2 separate regions of the Homo sapiens genome follow, and region 1 is linked to region 2. Evidence: promoter capture Hi-C in 16 types of primary human blood cells and fetal thymus (Javierre and others, 2016). All regions are on one chromosome and are shown on one strand. The core of a region is centred on a gene start or on the middle of the fragment in contact, and the rest is flanking DNA. Distances in the headings are between cores, read along the strand shown.

Region 1 (4,236 bases), core at 364-2,863, 800 kb after region 2:
GTTCAACTAAAAACCTTGTTTACATGAATTATATCTTTGTATCTCTGATTTGCATTCGGAATAATCCAAAGAGTATTTTCTGAAAAAAATTGTTGCAGGTGACTTTTTAGTTGATGGAGTTTTTTACCTTTAATTTTGTATATTGTTTCTAGTGAATATTTGGCAATATTCAAGAAGACAGTTGCGATGCATGAAGTGTTCCTGTGTCGTGTGGCAGCACATCCTATTTTGAGAAGAGATTTAAATTTCCATGTCTTCTTGGAATATAATCAAGATGTGAGTATCACATTGATTGGTGGTCAAGTTTTCTTTTTCTTCTTCTTCTTCTTTTTTTTTTTGAGACGGAATCTCGCTCTGTCTTCCAGGCTGGAGTACAGTGGCATAGTGGCATGATCTTGGCTCACTGCAAGCTCCGCCTCCCGGGTTCATGCCATTCTCCTGCCTCAGCCTCCCTAGTAGCTGGGACTACAGGCGCCTGCCACCACGCCCAGCTAATTTTTTCTATTTTGAAGTAAAGATGGTGTTTCACCGTGTTAGCCAGAATGGTCTCGATCTCCTGACCTCATGATCCACCCACCTCGGCCTCCCAAAGTGCTAGGATTACAGGCGTGAGCCATAGCGCCCAGCCCAAGTTTTTTTTTTTTTTTTGAGACGGAGTCTCGCTCTGTCAGCCAGGCTGGAGTGCAGTGGCGTCATCTCAGCTCACTGCAAGCTCCGCCTCCCGGGTTCATGCCATTCTCCTGCCTCAGCCTCCCGAGTAGCTGGGACTACAGGCGCCCGCCACTATGCCCTGCTAATTTTTTGTATTTTTAGTAGAGACGGGGTTTCACTGTGTTAGCCAGGATGGTCTCGATCTCCTGACCTCGTGATCCACCCACCTCAGCCTCCCAAAGTGCTGGGATTACAGGCATAAGCCACCGTGCCCGGCCCCAAGTTCTCTTTTTAAAGAGTCATTGGAAAAGGCAAGAGTAGTTAGAAAAGGCTCAAGGTCTTTTTTTAGAATGTTTGTATTTTTCTTTTTTTTTTTTTTTTTGAGACAGAGTCTTGCTCTGTCGTCCAGGCTGAAGTGCCGTGGCGCAATCTTGGCTCACTGTGACCTCCTCCTCCCAAGTTCAAGTGATTCTCGTGCCTCAGCCTCCCAAGTAGCTGGGACTACAGGCGCATGCCGCCATGCCCAGCTAATTTTTTTTTTTTTTTTAAGACAGTTTCGCTCTTGTTTCCCAAGCTGGAGTGCAACGGTGCGATCTCAGCTCACCCACAACCTCTGCCTCCTTGGTTCAAGCAATTCTTCTGCCTCAGACTCTCAAGTAGCTGGGATTACAGGAATGCGCCACCATGCCAAGATAATTTTTGTATTTTTAGTAGAGACGGGGTTTCTCCATGTTGGTCAGGCTGGTCTCAAACTCCCAGCCTCAGGTGATCCTCCCACCTTAGCCTCCCAAAGTGCTGGGATTACATGCATGAGCCACTGCGCCCGGCCTAATTTTTGTATTTTTAGTAGAGATGGAGTTTCACCATGTTGGCCAGGCTGGTCTCGAACTCCTGACCTCAGGTGATCCACCTGCCTCAGCCTCCCAAAGTGCTGGGATTAGAGGCGTGAGCCGCACCTGGCCTGTTTGTATTTTTCAAGGTAGTTTAAGTGACACTTTTTCAGTAGTAATGCAGTTATTTCAGTAGAACTTGAGTAGATTAATTGACAGAATGATAGTTAAGCATGTTACTAGCCAGGCATGGTGGCTCATGCCTGTAACCTGTAATCCCAGCACTTTGGGAGGCCAAGCCGGGCAGATCACCTGAGGTCAGGAGTTCGAGACGAGCCTGGCCAACATGGTGAAACCCCATCTGTACTAAAAATACAAAAATTATCTGGGCATGGTGGTGGGCGCCTGTAATCCCAGCTACTCGGGAGGCTAAGACAGGAGAATCACTTGAACCTGGGAGGCGGAGGTTGCAGAGAGCCAAGATGGTGCCATTGCACTCCAGCCTGGGGGACAAGACTGAAATTCCCATCTCAAAAAATAAAAATAAAAAATAAATCATGTTACTACAAGGGACACTGATTTTTTTTGTAATCCTTAATTGCAAACCTCTTAAGAAGTAGGAGCCAGGCACGGTGGCTCAGCCTATAATCCAGCACTTTGGGAGGCCGAGGTGGGCGGATCACGAGGTCAGGAGTTTGAGACCAGCCTGGCCAATATGGTGAAACCCCGTCTCTACTTAAAATACAAAAATTAGCTGGGCTTGGTGGCGCATGCCTGTAGTCCCAGCTACTCGGGAGACTGAGGCAAGAGAATCGCTTGACCCCGGGAGGCGGAGGTTGCAGTGAGCCAAGGTTGCGCCACTGCATTCCAGCCTGGGTGACAAAGCGAGACTCCGTCTCAAAAAAAAAAAAAAAAAAAAAAAAGAAATAGGGTTATCACATTGACTAATGTTTCTTAAATTTGAGTTTGGAGTCTTCCGAAGCCTTGTGGAGAATTCCAAGGAGGTGATTGAGCTAAAGAATTCCAGATTCGGGTAAATTATTGACTCTGGATCTGTTTAACTGACCATTGGTGCTGATCACTCCTTATTTTTTCCTTCCCTGCCTAAAAACTCTCTTTTTTTTTTTTTGAGGCAGAGTCTCTGTCGCCCAGGCTGGAGTGCAATGGCACTGTATCGACTCAGTACAACCTCTGCTTCCCAGGTTCAAGCGACTCCTCTGCCTCCACCTCCCGAGTAGCCACCATACCTGGCTAATTCTTATATTTTAATAGAGACAGGGTTTCACCATATTGGTCAGGCTGGTCTCGAACTCCTGACCTCAGGTGATCTGCCTGCGTCGGCCTCCCAAGGTGCTGGGATTACAGGTGTGAGCCACCATGCCTGGCCGAGGTGATTGCACTTTAAAGATTTCTTCGTTCATAGTGCTGGCAAAAAATTTTTTACTGAATGACTGATACAAATCTTGGAACCTGTGTTTGGATGACAAGATTAATTCATAATTTTTGCAGAAAATAAATATAGCATAGTGCTCATGTACAGGTTAACCTCAAGATCAAAGAATTTGGGCCAGTTGTAGTAAGTCACACCTTTAATCCCAGTACTTTGGGAGCCTGAGGCAGGAGGATTGCTTGAGCCAAGGAGTTCGAGACCAGCCTGGGCAACATAGTGAGACCTGTCTCTTTTTAAAAAAAAAAAAAAGAAGAAGAAGAAAGAAAAATGCCGGGTGCGGTGGCTCATTCCTGTAATCCCAACACTTGGGAGGCCAAGGCAAGGTATTCACTTGAGGCCAGTAGTTCAAGACCAGCCTGGGCAACATGGTGAAACCCCTGTCTCTACTAAAAACGCAAACATAAGCTGGACGTGGTGGCGCTTGCCTGTAATCCCAGCTACTTGGGAGGCTGAGACATGAGAATCACTTGAATGTGGGAGGCGGAGGCTGCAGTGAGCTGAGATTGTGCCACAGCATGGGTGACAGAGTGATATTCTGTCTCAAAAGAGAAAAAAGAGAAAAGAAACTAAAATTTTTGAGTAAGAATGAGATGCTCAAAATTTGATTTTAGAAAGCTGTCCCAGGCAACAGAATGGATTGGAATAAGATAAGAATTATTAACTAATACTTCAGTCTAGGAAAGAGATGATGAAGACTTTTACTGGAGAGTAGGAGTGGAAAGGGACAGTTTTAAGTCATTTGCTGTTAGAATTTGAGCTATGAAGAAAGGAAGAAGTTATAAAAATTTCAAGATTTTAATGAGAACTATGGAATTTTAGGGAACATGTCGGAGTCAGAAAGACTGTTTGGATGAAGGGGCCACAGATCAAAAGAGGGAAGACAGAAATTTTGGAGATCAGATTTTTTTTTTTTTTTTTTGAGACAGAGTCTTGCTCTGTTGCCCGGGCTGGAGTACAGTGGTGTGATCTCCGCTCAGTGCAACCTCTGCCTCCCAGGTGCAAGCGATTCTCCAGCCTCAGCCTCCCGAGTAGCTGGGATTACAGGCACATTTCACCATGCCCGGCTAATTTTTTTTTTTTTTTTTTAGACAGAGTTTCGCTCTTGTTGTCCAGGCTGGAATGCAATGGCGTGATATTGGCTCATGGCAACCTCTGCCTCCTGGGTTCAAAAGATTCTCTTGCCTCAGTCTCCCTAGTAGCTGGGATTATAGGCGGATGCCACGACGCCCAGCTAGTTTTAGTATTTTTAGTAGAGACAGGATTTCACCATGTTCTTCAAGGCTAGTTTTGAACTCCTGACCTCAG
Region 2 (4,583 bases), core at 2,084-4,583:
TGCCCAGGCTGGCGTGCAATGGCGCGATCTCGGCTCACTGCAACCTCTGCCTCCTCGGTTCAAGTGATTCTCCTGCCTCAGCCTCCTAAGCAGCATCTGCACCACCACACCCGACTAATTTTTTGTATCTTTAGTAGAGACGGGGTTTCATCATGTTGGCCAGGCTGGTCTCGAACTCCTGACCTCATGATCCACCTGCCTCAGCCTCCCAAAGTGCTGAGATTATAGGCGTGAGCCACTGCGCACAGCCTACAGTTTTAACATTTTTTTTAACGGTTATGTTAGCTAGAATGTTTGACAATGAGGAGGAGAAAAATCTGAGTGCTGAAGGGTCCATAAAGGTCTTTCTTTTTCTTTTTTTTCTTTTTGAGACAGGGTCTCAGTCTGTTGCTCAAGCTGGAGTGCAGTTGTGCCATCATGGCTCACTACAAACTCCACCTCCCAGGCTCAAGCAATTCTCCCACTTCTGCCTCTGGAGTAGCTGGGACTACAGGCACCTGCCACCACACTCTGCTAATTATATTTTTTGTAGAGACAAGAGTTTAGCCTTGTTGCCCAGGCTGGTCTCCAACTCCTGGGTGGCAAGCAATCCTCCTGCCTCAGCAACCCAAAGTGCTGAAATTACAGCAGTGAGCCACAACTCCTGGCCCATAAAGGTCTTTCTAAATCAAAACCAGACCCTCTTGTTGTCTTCTGCCCAGTCTGCTCATGGTTCTAATTTCCAAGTGTATATTCTTTTTCACCCACGTTGTAATGTTTGTTGACTTAAACCATATAGCGCTATAGATGATGGGGAGAAAACCTGTTGGATCACATTATTCAAAACTGTTTCCCAGAGTCGCAGGAAAACAATAGGTACCTCCTTGGAAATCTCCACTGTAGGGACAAGTCATCAAGGCTCAGCACCTCCCAATTTTTGCAAAAGGCACTATGACAAATCAAGGAACGCCTGTGCCTTACTCTTACCACTAGGTGTCACACAAAACAATCAGGAATAAACACCAAGATCCTGAAGGCTACCAGAAATATAAAACCATAGAAGGTGGTGCAAAAAAACCTTATTCCTCAGATATTTTTATTTTTTATAACCATTTTTATACCTGAAGCCAAATATCTTCTTCTGATGTATCCTCTATAATTGGGACATTTAGAGTTTGATGTTTCTGTACTTGTTTAAAAGAAGTGACTATCCCCAGATGGGGGTCAGGGGACACCCACCCTTTATTTTCCCTAACAGTTGGAGTAGAAAATACTTTTGAGTACATTCCAAATTATAGTGTAGTCAGTCTGATTTTCACAGCGTGTTTTCAAAAGTGTTAATACTAAGACTGCTTTGGCCAAATGATTAATATACTGCCAAGGGGTTCCTGGGTAAATTTCTATGCATTTCAGTTTCTTTTTAGGGAAGTAGGAACAATATCTATCTTACAAGATTAGTTCTGAGAACAATGTGGTACATAAGGCGCTGGAATTCTTTCAAAAATTTATACCCTGACATTTCCAAGAGCCATGGTCACCCTTACAAAGGAGAGTTAGGCATGCATTTGTAGACAAGCAATATGACTTTTAAGCTAGAAAAGACCTTAAGTAACATTCAATCTAATCTTATTATAAAAGTTAAGTATACCACAAAAAAGTTAACTGACCTCTCCAACTAATGTGCAGTCAAGTAAAGATAGAACCTGGAATTGAGATGTCCCATTGCAGTCACTGTTTCACCTTGCCTCAATCATTGTAGATTTGCATATCATAAACCTGCAGAGACAATGGTGTCTATCCCTGGGAAGTTTTCATTGTAACATGTGATCATTATTACCCTGGAGGGTCTATCTGATTTTAATTTTTTTCCCTTCATACTTGGTCTCTCTCTATCGAGTCAGATTTCTTTCATTCTAATATTAGGGGAGGGGTGGAGATACGAAGAGAGGGGAAGGATTGGTTAGTACAAGGCCAGTCAAGGTAAAGATGATTGCAATAATCACCAGAAATCTCTGCAGAACTACAGAGGCCTCCTGGGACTAATTCTGAAGAGCTCTGACCGAAGTTTGCTTTATTTTGCCTGTACCAATTCTACCAAGTAGATGAATTCAGTCCATGGCTTGCAGGCTTGGAGGTGGAGGTGGAGTGGAGAGCATAAATTATATTTCTGCAGGTGAAACCAGAGCATAGTGAGCCGAAACCCCTTTCTACCCAGGTGGCGTGAATGGGTCCAACTGCTACTGTCCCCCAGGACAAGAGAGCAAGGAGGGGCGGGCAGGATGGGACTACCTTGAGCCTCCCGCAGGATGCCTGGCAACTACTTTCTTAGTGGTCCTTAAGGTCCAATCGCGGTTAAGGCACTAACTAAACTCATTCTTCAGCCTCCTTCTCTAAGTTCTCCTCGAATTTGGGTGCCCAGAAGTAGGCTCACGATCCTTTTTCTGCGGGAGCACAATGTAGGTCAGATAGCATAAACGAATAGCTACTTATGAACACAATAGCTACTCTGCTATTGCAAGGTATCCACAACCACCACTACAAACATTAACACCTTGCTTTACTTGGGAAACAAAAAAAATCATGGTCCTATTCAGCAGTTTCCCCATACAGGGAGCGTTTGCCCCTCCCCCAGTCAACAGGGCTGTTCATCCCTAGGAAGTGATTTGAGAGTTCTCCAAGGATTTAGGCTTTTCACTCCTCCAAAGCTTTCACAACTTCTACCTGGCGGGGGTGCGTGGGGGGGTGGGGGCGAAGCTAAAAGTTCCTTTGCTGCAAAGAGCCTGGTATAGGCAGAAACACCGGCGCGGCCTGCAGCCCCCTAACCACAGTGCGTCCTTCCCCTTAGAAGTCTGGGGAAAGCAAATCCCTACGCCCAGCCATCATTTCCACTCTTGCGTTTTCAAAAGATCAAAAAACGGAAAGGACCGGCAGGTTGGCAAACCCCAAAGAGGGACCGCCCATCAGGTCGGCGTCCTTGGGATCTCAGCAGCCGACGACCCCAATTCAAATCGATCGTGGGAAACCCCAGGGAAAGAAGGCTCACTTGCAGAGGGACAGGATTACAGGGTGCAGGCTGCAGGGAAGTACCGGGGGGAGGGGGCCTGGTCGGAAGGACTTTCCAGCCACTCGGCGCTCATCAAAAAGTTCCCTGTCCGTGACCCTAGTGGCTCATCGCAGGGAGTTTCTCCGATGAACCCCAGCTCAGGGTTTAGGCTTCTTTTTCCCCCTAGCAGAGGACGAAGCCAGTTCTCTTTTTCTGGTCTGACTGGCTTGGAAATTCCCCGAGCCTGACCCCGCCCCAGAGAAATCCCCAGCCAGCGTTTATAGGGCGCCGCGGCGGCGCTGCAGAGCCCACAGCAGTCCGTGCCGCCGTCCCGCCCGCCAGCGCCCCAGCGAGGAAGCAGCGCGCAGCCCGCGGCCCAGCGCACCCGCAGCAGCGCCCGCAGCTCGTCCGCGCCATGTTCCAGGCGGCCGAGCGCCCCCAGGAGTGGGCCATGGAGGGCCCCCGCGACGGGCTGAAGAAGGAGCGGCTACTGGACGACCGCCACGACAGCGGCCTGGACTCCATGAAAGACGAGGAGTACGAGCAGATGGTCAAGGAGCTGCAGGAGATCCGCCTCGAGCCGCAGGAGGTGCCGCGCGGCTCGGAGCCCTGGAAGCAGCAGCTCACCGAGGACGGGGACTCGTAAGTGGCGGAGGCCCGGGGCTGGGGGTCGTCGGGAGGGCGGGACGCGCGCGGCCTGGGGGTGGGAGGCGCCGGGCCTGGAGCCCGAGCCGGGGGACCAGCGATGCAGCCGGGCGGGCGCCGCGGCACCCCGGGGCTCCTGCACCGCCCCGAACGCTGCAGGGCTGCAGGGCCGCGCGGGGCACCGGCCCAACTCGGAGGGGCGGCGGCTGGGCCCTGGTGGATGGCAGCGTCGCCACACGCCCCCTCCCCCCAGACCCGTCCTCTAGGCCGGGGGCGGGGCGGCAGCGGGGACGCGAAGTCCCCGGTTGCATAAGGCGGGGCGGGAGTTTCTGGCCGCTGGCGGGCGCCGAGCAGCCGGGAGGGGAAGTACAGGGCGTTCCGAGCTGGCGGGAGGGCGGGGCGGTCTGGCCGGCGCCCGCCGGGGCCGCGGGGGGAGGGGGGCGGAAAGTCCCTGGGCGCCTGCCAGGAACACTCAGCTCATAATAACCTCGCGGAAAACACCGCGGCCTCGGCCTCCAGAAACCCCGGCCTTGCGCAATCCCCCGCAGCCCGCGCCTCCCTGGGCCCCACGCGGTGCACTCACCACCCCTGGGGTTTTTCCCTCTCTTCCCCACAGGTTCCTGCACTTGGCCATCATCCATGAAGAAAAGGCACTGACCATGGAAGTGATCCGCCAGGTGAAGGGAGACCTGGCCTTCCTCAACTTCCAGAACAACCTGCAGCAGGTGCGCCGCTTGCCTGGCCCGGGTTCTCTCTGACCCTGGGACGTAGCTGATGTAGCAGAGTCACCCCAGATCCTTTCTGAATTCAGGGCCACTGAGCACTATTTACCCTCACCTTTTACTTCACATCAGCCCACATCCTAGAGAGTGAAGGAAATTCCACTGATTTGGTGAGGTCTTTATGACCCACCTGG

The links. Contacts are between HindIII fragments. The CHiCAGO score rates a contact against its expected background, and 5 or more counts as called.
Region 1: a contact is called between a fragment that was not itself captured here and the fragment with the promoter of NFKBIA in region 2, in 1 of 17 cell types (total B cells). The highest score is 7.3, in total B cells.

Annotation. Positions count from the first base shown.
Region 1 is chr14:34,599,388-34,603,623 of GRCh38, reverse strand. It overlaps SNX6 (sorting nexin 6), which reads left to right. Exons shown (of 14, transcript NM_152233.4): 6 at 153-276. Among named protein-coding and RNA genes, the nearest start is that of SNX6, 29 kb to the left of the region's middle. The HindIII fragment of the contact is 6,636 bases long and covers 1-4,236 here.
Region 2 is chr14:35,403,499-35,408,081 of GRCh38, reverse strand. NFKBIA (NFKB inhibitor alpha) reads left to right here and starts at 3,333. Exons shown (of 6, transcript NM_020529.3): 1 at 3,333-3,664; 2 at 4,284-4,392. The coding sequence starts at 3,438. RefSeq lists enhancers at 835-894, 2,872-3,271, 2,476-3,347, 4,452-4,501, 4,532-4,583 and silencers at 3,342-3,511, 3,662-4,251. The HindIII fragment of the contact is 3,306 bases long and covers 2,687-4,583 here.